Linked DNA regions of Homo sapiens: regions 1 and 2 are each linked to region 3. The links are contacts of gene promoters, found by promoter capture Hi-C in human tissues and cell types (Jung and others, 2019). All regions are on one chromosome and are shown on one strand. The core of a region is centred on a gene start or on the middle of the fragment in contact, and the rest is flanking DNA. Distances in the headings are between cores, read along the strand shown. Region 1 overlaps LOC101929710 (a long non-coding RNA gene). Region 2 overlaps LOC101929710 (a long non-coding RNA gene). Region 3 holds the start of GLRX (glutaredoxin).

Region 1 (4,601 bases), core at 1,715-4,214, 490 kb before region 3:
ACTTAGGAAATGGCCTGGCACAAAGTAAACACTGTAGCATTAACTACTAATGTCATTTTCCAGAAGAGGAAACCAAACTACTAGATATTCCTGGCAGTCTGACAGCTGGGAACAGACTCAACCATTTTACTGTCACTCAATGAAGAAATCAACAAGCAAAGTGCGGAGTGATATGTCAGTTGCCCATCATGCAAGGGGGACATTGAGAATTTGAAACCTTGGTCCCTTGACTTCAGATGCAGTGTCTTTCCATCTCACCATGTGGCCTTGGGTATGATAGCATGCCTGGGAGAACAAGCAATGAAGGTGTAAAGATGTATGCAACACAGCAACTTGTTATATCTTACTTTGAACAGTACCAAGAAAGCCTTCATGGAGTGCTGAAGTATATGAAGACTATGGCCCTCTGGAACCAAAAGCTGTGGGAGCAAGAATAAAATTAATCAGTCCAGAAACACAGTTCCTGAAAACTTGTGGAGCTATCACCATTATCTCTGAAATGTGTGTGCCAATACATCGGCAAAAAGCATTCACTTCCCATAGAAGGTTCTTTGAGTTCGGTTAAACATACCAGGCTGAGCTGGAAGTGAAAATAATTGCCTACTCCAGCACTGGAGAGTTTCAAATACATAGCAACTTGCTGGGTGTCCAGAAATTGATCACTTCATCATCCAGCAATCCAGCCAGGGGAGCAATTGCTCCAGTAGGAAGGTTAACAGGCAAGAAAATGAATCAGCGTCTTATGGTTACAAATATGTTTTTGCTGCTCTCACTACAAATTGCTGTGATTTTTTTTTAAGTTCAGATGCCTAGATATTTTACTGCTCAGGCTATCAAGCCATTGAGCTATTGTTACAACAACTGACCACGCCATGATAGCATTATCATAGCTGTTTTTCTGTTGTTGTGTGGTCAGCATTATGGATTGGGAATAAATTTGAGCTATTTGCTGATCTGCTTTCCAGGATGCAGCATTATTGGCTCTGAAGGAGCTTTAGCTTTGTAGTCTGTGGATGCATATTGAGAATAATATCAGGGTGCAGATGTTACCAAACCTTTATATGTTTGGTTTGTTTCCTAAAAAAACACCCATAAGATCCTCCAAGGGGCCCACCTCAGTTAAGCTAGGAATTCACTCAGCCTATTAATATACTAAAATGCCAAGTCAGGGCTTCTCTGATTGTTGCTGCATGCAATAGGATGTGACAGTTTTTAGAAGTGGCTTGTTTAAAAGCTTTGCACTTCCTTGGAAGAAGGGTTCATGTAATATGACTAAATAATTATTATGATCATCATACATATTCATCAGATAAAATTATTTTTCAAGTATATACAGAACAAAATATGCTAGGTTTTAAGGTTTTCATTCTAAAATAGGATGACACCATTCTTTTTTTTTTTTTTTTTTTTTTTTTGAGATGGAGTCTCACTCTGTTGCCCAGGCTTGAATGCAGTGGCATGATCTCAGCTCACTGCAACCTCTGCCTCCTGGGCTCAAGCGATTCTCCTGCCTCAGCCTCCCTAGTAGTTGGGACTACAGGAGTGCACCACCATGCCCAGCTAATTTTTTTTTTTTTTTTTTGTATTTTTGGTACAGACACAGTTTCACCATGTTGCCCAGGCTGGTCTCAAACTCCTGGGCTCAAGTGATCCACCTGCCTTGGCCTCCCAAAGTGCTAGGATTACAGGCATGAGCCACCACACCTGGCCAGGATGACACCTTTATAATGTACGTGTGACTTGCTTTAAATAAACCAGTAGTTTTCTGAAATGTCAAATGTGTGTGGTAATGTTCAAGCTGGACAAGTATCTCCTTCGGTGTATGTTATCTAACTAGTATCTTTTATACAGAGGCCTTGCTCACTCAAACCTAGTCTCTCTTTAGGTACCAAGAACATAACTAGATAATCTTTTAAGGCCAACCATTCCCAGTTCAACATTCCATTCAACATTATCTACACAGAGATCTTATGTGTAATATTCGGAAAACAAAAGACTTAATTTGAGAAGAGCCAGAGTAAAACTAGAAACAGATTTACTTGGCAATTAAGTTAGATAAATATCAGTAATTACAGCATATATAACCCAGGTGTGGTCTTATTTCATCTTTCCTCTCAAAGGAATTAGTATAGTCTTTTGGCCCTGGGTGGCTTAGGTCAGAGTCCTCTTCTTGCATCATTATCCTTTGGGATTCCTGATGACACTCTCTGTGGGGGTTCTCAGATTCTGGCTGCATTCTCTCACGGTTCCCCTCTACCTTTAGAAAGTTTCTTTGTTACAACATGTTCAGCTGTTGGTGCTTTCAACCTGACTTTTTGATCTCCTCTGCACATTTAAGCAGGGCTTTATCTGATGCTGACAGTTTTGCCGTGCTTCCCATGGTAACATTCTCTGCATCTAGTCCCAGGTTTGCACATCTTATTGTGGTTCCCCTGCCTCTTAGATTAGGTCTCAGACATACCTCACAATCTTTCTCAGCTGGGCTACAGAACATCTCCTGGCATCTGGGGAGTTTAGGACAAGAGGACAGAGAAGATGTGACTCTGGACTCCTAGCTATGCTTCAGCTCAGGCAGCTTGACTTTGAGCTCTATTATATATTGCATTCTAGGTAAGATTTCTTTCTAAGCAAGATTTTCTTGGCAAACAAGCAAATGGAGAAGTTTACATACTAAAATGATGGCAAGTACTTCTTTCTTAAGTCACCATGTGGTCAGGGAAACTTCTGTTTATATTCACTATTCTGGTTACCTATTACTATGTTACAAAGCCATACAAAAATTGGCAGCTTAAACAGACAAGCATTTAATTATATCTCCAGATGTCATGGGTCAGAAATTCAGAGAAGGCTCAGGCTCAGCTGGGTGGGTTTTGTTTTTCTCTGCGTGGCTTGAAGGAGTTCACTTGGGGGTACTCAACCCTTAGGTGGTCTGAATGGTCCACAACAGCTTCTCTCTCATGTCACTTGATGGTGACAGCAGGAAGTCTGGGCTCAGCTGGATCTGTCAACCCAAAGTGCCTACATGTGACTACTCCAGCATGGCCATCTCAGGAAAGCTGGACTTCTTATATGGAGGCTCAGAGATCTCAAAAATAGTGTTCTAAGAAACAGAAAGTGAAAACCTACAGATATTTAGGGCCTGGGCTCAGAAAACTGGCACAGTGTCACTTCTGCTATTATTCCATTGGTCAAAGCAGTTACAGAGCCCATCCACATTCAAAGGGAAGGCAATAGACCTCTACCAAAAATAGTAGCAAAGAATTTGTGGCTATCTTTAATCTACCATAGTTACAGACCTTTAAATGGTGCCATCTTTGACCCAAATGACCATATGGTCAGTGACTTCACCACTCCCACTTCTCTTTCTGATCTCAGTTTCTGGTCTTGCTCTCTACCCTGGCAAAGATGATCATGCTGCTGAGTTGACATATACTGACCAGTCTAAGGAATCATGGCCTCACATTGTTCACTATACATTTCTGAACTGGCTTCCAAGAGCACTGTCTGTATTCCCTATCAGTCCTTCCACTCTGTGAAGTGCAGAGGTTTCCCTTTGGCTACGGTTGTCATATAAAAGAAGGTGTATGTAGTTAAACTTGAACTTCAGATAAACAACAAACTTTTTTATTATTATAAGAATGTCTCAAATATTGCATGGGACATACTTATACTAAACAATTGTTTAATCCCACAGTCCTAATATTTTGCTGACATGATTAAAGCAATTACTTATACCCGTATCACAGTTTAACAATGGAGACAAGAGTCACAGAATTATTTTAATTCTTTGACTTTTCTTTCCCATAACATGTGGTTTATAATCACACTGATTGCGTGAGGGTGAGAGGAATCCAGTCCTGAGATCAATCAAATCTTATGATCACCACTTTGCCTAAATATATTAATATATAAATGGCTTCTACTAAATAAACTTTCTTGTTTAGCAAATGCTTCTATCATTCCTTTTTGAAGTTAAAGAAAACCTCTGCATTTAAATGTAGCTATATTGCAAATTTAAAGGGTCAGTCAAAAGTATTTATTGAGTGTGTACTTTATGTTAAGTCAGTAACGATCAGCATGTGCTTCTTGACTGGGAGGAGTTCAGCGTCTAGGAAGGATACAGAAATGTGAACAGGTTATCACAGAGCAACGTAATAGGACTTAAAACAAGAAAAGGGTTCAGCAGGTATGACTTAAAAGGCTTAGGGAATTTGACATCATAAAGGAGGTAATATTTGGTCTGATCTTGAAGAACAAGTAAGAATTACCCAGGCAGAAAAGGAAGCCAAAGTCATTCTCAGCAGAAAACAAAAACAAATAAACAAACTTGTACAAATGAACAGTCATGAAGGATCCTGCCATGTTTGTGTAGCAGAGAAGGCTCTTGGTCTAGTCAAAGCTGGAGAAGAGGCACTGGAGCCCCATTTGCTCAGCTTCACCTATGCTACAAATACATAGAAAGGATGAGGTTCCTAATTCATCCCAACATTTAGCAACAGCAAGAGGAAGCCTAACAAAAGCAAGTGATCACAAGGCCCAACAAATAATCAAAATAAAGGCAACAGGAAAGATGCCCAACTTCAGCAAGGATGAAAAGAAAA
Region 2 (4,212 bases), core at 1,005-3,504, 420 kb before region 3:
CCATAAAAAATTGATGAGTTCACGTCCTTTGTAGGGACATGGATGAAATTGGAAATCATCATTCTCAGTAAACTATCACAAGAACAAAAAACCAAACACCGCATATTCTCACTCATAGGTGGGAATTGAACAATGAGAACATATGGACATAGGAAGGGGAACATCACACTCTGGGGACTGTTGTGGGGTGGGGGGAGGGGGGAGGGATAGCATTGGGAGATATACCTAATGCTAAATGACGAGTTAATGGGTGCAGCACACCAGCATGGCACATGTATACATATGTAACTAACCTGCACATTGTGCACATGTACCCTAAAACTTAAAGTATAATAATAATAAATTTAAAAAAAATTCTTCCAGATAAATTTTAAGCACATAAAACAAATACATGCTTATCATATAAATAGTAGCATATTATACATTCTGATATTAGTACATAATAAATTTCATTCTGTATTGTAGCTGTATAGTATTCAATATGTGAATTAAGTATACTTTATCCATTTCCTTCCTAATAAACATTTATATGGTTTTCAATCCCTCTAATGTAGCAAATAGTTCTGTAGTGAATAATCTGGTATAAATGTCCTTTTGAAAGTATGTAAAATTATCAGTAAAATAAATTCCTAGAGTTAACTCACTGCATCAGAAAAAAAAAAAAAAAAAAAAAGAAAGTTAGCTGGGCAAGGTGACATGCACTTGTGGTCCCAGCCACTCAGAAAGCTGAGGCACCACAATTGCTTGAGCCCAGGAGTACAAGGCTGCAGTGAACTATGATCATGCCACTGCACTCCAGCCTGGGTGACAGATCAAGAGCCTATCTCTAAAAAATAATAATAATAAAAAAATGAATATTTCTTGAAGTCACTCAATTCTTGCAGAGGCCATAACATGCAGTAAGATTTCAACTGGGAAGGAAGCTGGACACAGCTGCAGACTGTATAAAGCATTAGGAAAGCTGGCTAAGAGTAGACAGTAAAGAAGGTGGACCCAGAAATCGGACGCTTGCCCAGCAGCTTCACCAAACATGGAGAGAAAACTGTGCACAGTCAACATTCTTCTGCTGATGTACCTTCCTTCTTCCTCCTCTCAGTCTGTGGGAGACAGATCTGTGAACTGACAGTATGATTGAAATCCAGCTGTAGTAAAGCTTAATAGCAGAAAGCTGAAGTCTGACCTACCCAGTTTGTGGATAGATATCAAGCATAGGTAATCTATTGCTCAAATAAAAATGATAAGCAGCAAGACAAAAATATTGATATGGAATTATGAAAATAATCTATGGTATAATAAATTAATTACATTCAAGATGGAAAAACAAAGCAAAATTTACAAGTTACCTACTATATAGGAAATAGGAGGTAAATATTAGAAACTTATGCTTCATGTTCCCAATAAAATTATAAAAACATATACTATTGAAGGTCAAATGAGGTTAAATTACAAATTAGATATAAGTGTGCCTGGGTAAAAGGCAGCAAAAAGAAAAGGGCAGGTAAGAAGTCCAAAAGACGCAAAATTATAACACGTATCTAGAATGAAGGCAGTAAAGATAGAATTGACACTATAGAAAATAAAACTAGTGATGTGAAGAATATACTTAAAAGATTCTTTCAGAATGCAGAGAAAAAGAACAGATATTTAAAAGATGAGAGAAATAATATTATAAAGGGATGATAAAAAGAAAAATCCAATGTTATTAATAATTCATATTCCAGATAATACCAGAAGAAAATGAGATAGAAACAATAGGTAAAGATGTGATACAAGAAAATTGAAAGACGTTAGGACAAAAAGACTCCCTAAGGGCAGATTAGTGGAAAAAACCACACATCTCCTGAAATTTTAACATTTCAGGATTGAAGAATGAGTACTACATGCATGCAGGTAGAAAAAAAGCAAAGCTAGAAACATTAAGGTAGAAATCTAATAAAGTTTATACTCCCCCCAAAAAAGCCTCAAATATCACACTCCTAATTAACTCTAGGGTCAAAGAGAACTCAAAACTCCTGTCAGGAGACAATTTAAAAATAAGTCTCAATAGCAAATTAGTAAAGAATAATCACAGGCAATTTACAACATGAAAATAAAATTAATAATAAAACAATACAACAGCAATCATTATATAGCACTTATTTTATACCAGGTACTATTTAAATGACTTAAGTATATTACATATGTTTACATATATAAGTCATTGCATAATTGGGCAATACATTTATCAAAAATGTAACCTTACCATTAATTAAAAAAATTAAAATTTTAAAAACAATGAAGTTGTTAAAAATTATAGTTTTATCATATTGGCAATGATTATATTAATTATAGCCAATGGTGCCAGGATATATGAAGTAAACACTCTCACCAAAGTTGGTAGGAGTGCAAATAACACAACCAATCTGAAAGGAAGTTTGGAAAAATTTATGAAAATTTAATATACCTATACCCAATGACTCCCAAACAATTCTATGTCTAGAAACCCACACAAAAGAAATAAGTTTGCTGATTAAGGAGGTATGTACAATCATTTTCAATCCAACATATTGTTGGTTTCTACTTTATTAATTATTTAGCTCTCATTATATAGTAAAGATACTAACATAGAAACAGGAAACACTTTAATATTCTTCAATAGTGGGTAGTTTAAATAAATTATAGTATAGCCAGGCTGTAGAAAACTATGCAGCTATTAAAAATGAAGATATAGGCTGGGCGCGGTGGCTCACGCCTGTAATCCCAGCACTTTGGCAGGCCAAGGCAGGCAGAGCATTTGAGGTCAGAGGTTCGAGACCAGCCTGGCCAACGTGGTGAAACACCATCTCTACTAAAAATACAAAAAAAAAAAAAAAAATTAGCCAGGTGTGGTGGCAGGTGCCTATAATCTCAGCTACTCAGGAGGCTGAGGCAGGAGAATCACTTGAACCTGGGAGGCAGAGGTTGCAGTGAGCTCAGATGGTACCATTGCACTCCAGCCTGGGCAACAGAGCAAAAACTCCGTCTAAAAAAAAGAAGAAGAAGAAGGAGAAGAAGGAGAAGAAGGAGAAGAAGAAGATGAAGATGAAGAAGAAGAAGAAGAAGAAGAAGAAGAAGAAGAAGAAGAAGAAACAGATTTGCATTTTCTGACATTAAAATATTATCTAAAAGGGAAAGAAATATAAAATTGCCTAAATATAGTGTGATGTCATTTTTTAAAAATATGTATAGAAAGAAAAAGAGAACAGAGGAAAGAGAACAACCTAAAAGAATGTCTCAAAGGTTAAAATGTATTAAATTTAGTAGTTAAATTATGAGTGTTCTTTATTTTCTTGTTTCTATTTTTCTGAAGATCATCTGAAAAAATAACATTGTATTTCATTTTGTTTAATTATGAGAGATGACTAATAATGTTTTTGGTAACATTCATATAATCTTTCATTATTTAATCAACAAATAATAATATTAACTAAACATACAATTTTTATAAATTAGAGGATAAAGTAAACCCAAAGGAAGCAAAAAGAAGGAATTAAAAGTTAAAATCTGTTTTAATAAATTAGGAATTGGAAAAGGACAGAATCAAAAACAAAACCATGAGAAATTCTTTGGACAAAAATAAGCTTTAGGAAAAATTAGGAATGCGTAAGTAGAAAAATTAACAGATTGAGAGTAGATTTTTTTAATTGTTAAAAATATGTACATATAATTCTATGAAAATATACTTAAAGTCTCAATAGAAATTACATGTTTATAGAAAAAAATACAAATTTCCAAAATCAAATTAAGAAGATATAGACAAACTGAATAGATAATGATGACAAAAACAATGTAAAGCTTTGGCAAAGATTATTTCCAGAATATGGTTCCAGGCCCCTTTAGTTTTATATACAAATTATAGAAACTTTCCAAGTAATTGGTGATTTTCAAACGATTAATAATCGCTTCTACAGGCTAGAAAAACGTGCAACTTTTAGACACCATTTTTAGAAACTAATAAATCCCTAATTCCCATATCAGACAAAAGTAGAACACAGATATTACCCCTACTCCCCCCAAAAAAGGCTAAACTCACATTTGAATAAGACTTATATAAGCAAAATTCTAGCAGAGACAAATCACATGATACTAACACCAATACAAAGGTTCTAGGGTAGCTCACCATTCCAGAACCCTCCTCTCAGGCCATACTTCTCTCTCCTTGCAGAATTAGCCTCTTTAGGGCCACCTAAGCCC
Region 3 (4,744 bases), core at 1,265-3,764:
GCTTGCAGTGAGCAGAGATCGTGCCACTGCACTCCAGCCTGGGCAACAGAGTGAGACTCCGTCTCAAAAAAAAAAAAAAAAAAAAAAAGAGTAACCACACATATTTCACTAGCTTGTTGCCAACCATCTGTAAAGCAGGACTGATTCTCCCCTAAAAAATGCCCTCACTTCCCACCCTCCAAGGTGTATTTTCTGAGAGTGCCTGGGAGTGTCTCACACAAGCCAAAGGAGAGTCCACACGTGTTAGTCCACACGCACACCCTCTTTCCATCCACAGCACTTGACGCATCTGCAGTCCCCATGGCGGCTTTCCATTGAGATGCCCTAAGGTCCATGCTGGGTTTCAGCTCCTGCTGTACAATGCAGCAGAGGCTTCTATGCTTGTCATTTTTCACTGAGTTGAAGCCACAGCATTTTCTGAGAAATGGAGAGGACACCCGTTCTTTGCCATCTCTTTGTCTCCCATTTTCCACATGGTGCCTCACAAAAAAATTGCCTTTAGCTTGTGCCTTATGGCCATCTGTCCTAAGGCTTCAGACACCAGGCAGTCCCCGGGACTGAGTGAGAGGCAGACAATAGTCTCCCTGGATCCCAGCCTCTTGGGGCAGGTGACTAATTTGCAAAAGGTCAGGATACCTAGCTAAATGGTCATTTGGTGACATAGAGGCCATGATTAGTGTCTGCCAACAATTCAGCAGAATGGTTGACAAGGTCAGATAACAACAAAATGAGAGAATGGAGGTGAGAAAGGTACAGACAGTAAATTTCATGAAAGGGCAGAGGCAGGAAAGCAGGAAATGGGGAGTGGTGGTGGTGGTGGTGGCTTTTAACTTGAACACAGTGGCAGGCTGAGGCACCAGGAAGGGAGGAGCCAACAACAGACCGGAGAAGAGAAAGGCTCTGAGTGAGTAGCAGGTGCAAGTCGTGTGGATAAACCTCAGGCTGAGGGAACTTAAGGCAACAGCCTGAGGGCCCTGAAACAGACCCTGGACCTCCTGGCAGGGGCCTCTGGAAGGAGCCTGGCCACAGGGTTCTGAGGTAAAAGAATGAAAAAAGAGAGGAGGCTCAGACTCTGTGGCAGAGCCTACTTTGGAGGGAAGTGGGAAGTGGGAAGTCCGGAGCCCTGACCACGTGAGGGGCCTCCCAGCCCTGCCACATCCTTTTCTCTGGACAGAGCTGTCACTTAGCTCCCCCTCCGTGACTCAGAATCTGGCTTTCTCATTTTGCCATTTTAATTCTAGTAACGATGAGAGTCACAGTAAAAAGCTGCTTCTGGGAGTGGATTTTCTTCCCTTCCCTTGATCGCAGTATGCTTGGGATTCCTCTTACGTGGCAGTCGTGGTGTCCAGCTCTGGCCTTGGCCCCGCCTCTTTGAAGATACTCTGGTTTCACCATAAAACTTCCTGGGGAAAGGATGATTCACGTTTAAAGGACATAGTTTTTCCTTGATTTGTTTATTTAAGCTACCATACACTAGAGGGGGCCGGAACTAGACCCAGGAGTAGAGGACTTTGCTTTGCGGGATAAGGAGAATGGGCACCCTGGGGAAGAGCGAAAGATTTCCTACTGTTACAACCCGTGTCTTATAACACTTGAAGTGAATGTGGTGTCTGAGTTACAACACTACTTCCCCTCACAAACAGTTAAAAGCAGAGGGTCACAAACATAGGCTCAACCAGAAAAAAAGATTCTCATTTCATCTGTAGTTTTGTATCAAGGATTGTGTTGGAATTTGCCTCCATATTAAACTGCTGTTCAAGGGTTACCAACTCAAATGGTTATGGGGTGAAGCCGGTGTCTCAGGCATGGGCCTGTCGTTGGGACCTGTGGCAAACCAAAGCCACTACTTGCCCTATACAAAGGGGGCAACAGCTGTCAGCCCCAGCAGCTTCCACTAAAAGGTGCAAGCTCTGTATTGCCCGACCTGACTTTTCAGAGAGAAGTTTTAAGTCCGAATTGTTTTGTGAGACCTCCAGATTTTTAAATACTGAGAATGAATTCCATTAAAAAGATCACAACAACAAACACCCACCATACAGTCCAAGCAAAATGCTGTGAGAGCAACCTTCATGAGGAGTGCAAAGTCACAGTTTCAATTTCACTTCTTCTAAAGAGATTTCCAAGTGTTCTGTTTCTTAAGTGATTCTGTTTGCATTTTAAAATACAACTGTATCTCCTAGAGGGAAAACAAGAATTTGCTCTAAGAAGTCACTGCCTCCTCAGCCCCTTTGTGAGTAAGCACTTTATGCTTCCCCAGAGGTGACTAAACTCTGATCATTGCCAATGGGCAGGCACTCCCCAAATGTCCAAGGACAACAAAGATACCCAGAGTGTCTTTCATAGCTACCAATGATTAAATAGCAAGTATTGCATTCCTGGGCATTGCTAACTAGTGAAGTATACCAGATGGAAATGTCTTCGAAGCTGTCCCTTTAAAACTCGAGCAAGCTACCAGGCAAACTCCGCCTCCAGGGAGGTTCCTTATTAAATAGGAGCCAACTGGCTGGGTCGGGGCTCAATACCCCAAGCAATACCTGCAACTGAGGATTCTTCCCGGGGAGACCGCAGCCCATCGGCATGGCTCAAGAGTTTGTGAACTGCAAAATCCAGCCTGGGAAGGTGGTTGTGTTCATCAAGCCCACCTGCCCGTACTGCAGGAGGGCCCAAGAGATCCTCAGTCAATTGCCCATCAAACAAGGGCTTCTGGAATTTGTCGATATCACAGCCACCAACCACACTAACGAGATTCAAGATTATTTGCAACAGCTCACGGGAGCAAGAACGGTGAGTTTCATTTTAAACGGCTAGGGAAAGGCTCCCGGATTGCCTTTTCTTGTCAGAGCTGTGCCTTTCTTTAGGATAAGGCTGCGGCTCCGTACTTCAAGGCGTCCAGAGGGCTGTGCGGGGCGGGGGGTGTGGGGGAGGGCGCCTTAGAGAGGATCTCGGTCACTTGAATGAGCGGCGGCACTGCAGCCAAAGGTCTTCACGGGGCAGAAGAGGGAGTACAGCTGATGTCTGCTGTGCGGCAGGGTAAGTGGGACCAGCAGCTTGCCGGTGAGTCCCTGGGGAATTATCTAGAGTCTTTGTTTTAAGCACTGCCAGGAAATGACAGTTTTCAGTTGGCAGGGCTGGAGGTGGAAGCTGGGGTGGAGGGCCGGGTGTGATGTGTTTGTTATTTAACATGAGATTCATGTTCTTCATTCTTTTCTCTAGGCTTTCTTTTTCTAATTTGCTCATTCTTCCTTATCTAATTCCTCCCACTGGAAAAATCTAATGTACCGTTATCTGCCCCTTGTTCTAAATTAATTATGGATGTTTCCAGGCCCCACATTGTAGGGAATCATAGCCTGGAGTTCTGGCCTGGCTCTTATAATGGCTGGCTGTGTGATCCTGGGCAAGTCACCACCCCAGTAGTCCTCAAAGATCCCAGCTGCAAGACCAGATTAGGTGACCTCAGAGTCCCATTTGCTACGAATAGACTGTGGGACCCTCTAAAAATTGCTCTCCTCCATCCGAAAGACTTCCCTCTCTTCAGCATCCTTGGCTTTGCGTCCTGGGCTTCAGGAGGGATGCCAGCCACATCACCTGTATCAGTTCTGCTGTGAGGTGGGATGAGAAATGTCCCACCAGCTCAGCTAAGTTCTCTTTTACGATGCACGAATTCTACAGCACAGTGTTAGGCCAAGCACATATCCTATTTCAGTTTTAGTTTGACTTACAAGGTTGTCTCTGGGTTCTGAGTATAAAGCATTGGAGGTTGTTTCTCTCCCCTTCTCTCTAATAAGAAGTCAGCATTTTGGTGCAGAAAGGGGGCTTAGTGTGTTATCCTACTGCTGTGTGCTGAGGTCCTGGAGTATACACAATGACGAGAGAAGCTCTTGCTGCCTAGTGGGACCACCAGCTGCATAGGATGCCCAGGCCCTGAGAGGTGTAAAGGGCAGTGCAAACACTACTACGGGCCCCACTGTGGCTGCCACCCTGAGGACCTTTTAGCCATTGGTTCCCAAACTTTGCTGCACATTAGGATCACCTAGAGAGCTTTTAAAACAATCCTTATGCCCAAATTATGCCCCTCAATAACTAAATCACAATGTCAGAGGTGGGAGCCAAGCATTAGTTTTGTTTGTTCGTTTGTTTTGAGACAGTTTCATTCTTGTCACCCAGGCTGGAGTGCAATGGTGCAATCTTGGCTCACTGCAACCTCTGCCTCCTGGGTTCTCCTCAACCTCCCAAGTAGCTGGGATTACAGGCGCCCACCACCATGCCCAGCTAATTTTTGTATTTTTAGTAGAGACGGGGTTTCACCATGTTGGCCAGGCTGGTGTCGAACTCCTGACCTCAGGCGATCCACCTACCTCGGCCTCCCAAAGTGCTGGGATTAAACGGGTGAGCCACCACACCTGGGATTTTTATTTGGAAAAATCCCTTGGGGATTCCAATGTGCAACACAATTGGGATTATTGTTCTCAGCCCAACAGCATCTATTTTCCAGGAGGTAAAGCAAACCTCTTCATGTGTTCATTTAACAATTGCTTTTTTTTTTTTTTTGAGATGGAATTTCGCTCTTGTCGCCCAGGCTGGAGTGCAGTGGTGTGATTTTGGCTTACTGCAACCTCCACCGCCCAGGTTCAAGCAATCAAGTAGCTGGAATTACGGGCACCTGCCACCACACCTAGCTAATTTTTGTATTTTTATTAGAGATGGGGTTTCACCATGCTGGCCAACCTGGTCTCGAACTCCTGAC

The links. The method cuts DNA at HindIII sites, captures the fragments that hold promoters and counts their contacts. A contact is called where the count stands out against the background at its distance.
Region 1: a fragment that was not itself captured here is called in contact with the fragment with the promoter of GLRX in region 3 in 1 of the 25 tissues and cell types used here (dorsolateral prefrontal cortex).
Region 2: a fragment that was not itself captured here is called in contact with the fragment with the promoter of GLRX in region 3 in 1 of the 25 tissues and cell types used here (thymus).

What each region holds. Positions count from the first base shown.
Region 1 is chr5:96,314,291-96,318,891 of GRCh38, reverse strand. LOC101929710 (a long non-coding RNA gene) reads right to left here. Exons shown (of 5, transcript NR_130776.1): 3 at 348-419. It also overlaps a transcript of CAST not described here. Among named protein-coding and RNA genes, the nearest start is that of PCSK1, 120 kb to the left of the region's middle. The HindIII fragment of the contact is 4,889 bases long and covers 520-4,601 here.
Region 2 is chr5:96,237,197-96,241,408 of GRCh38, reverse strand. The region is part of intron 1 of LOC101929710 (a long non-coding RNA gene); the gene reads right to left. It also overlaps a transcript of CAST not described here. Among named protein-coding and RNA genes, the nearest start is that of MIR583, 160 kb to the right of the region's middle. The HindIII fragment of the contact is 5,381 bases long and covers 1-4,212 here.
Region 3 is chr5:95,820,496-95,825,239 of GRCh38, reverse strand. It overlaps GLRX (glutaredoxin), which reads left to right and starts at 2,514. Exons shown (of 3, transcript NM_001118890.2): 1 at 2,514-2,784. The coding sequence starts at 2,578. RefSeq lists enhancers at 1,266-1,766, 1,997-2,086, 4,003-4,142. The HindIII fragment of the contact is 9,845 bases long and covers 1-4,744 here.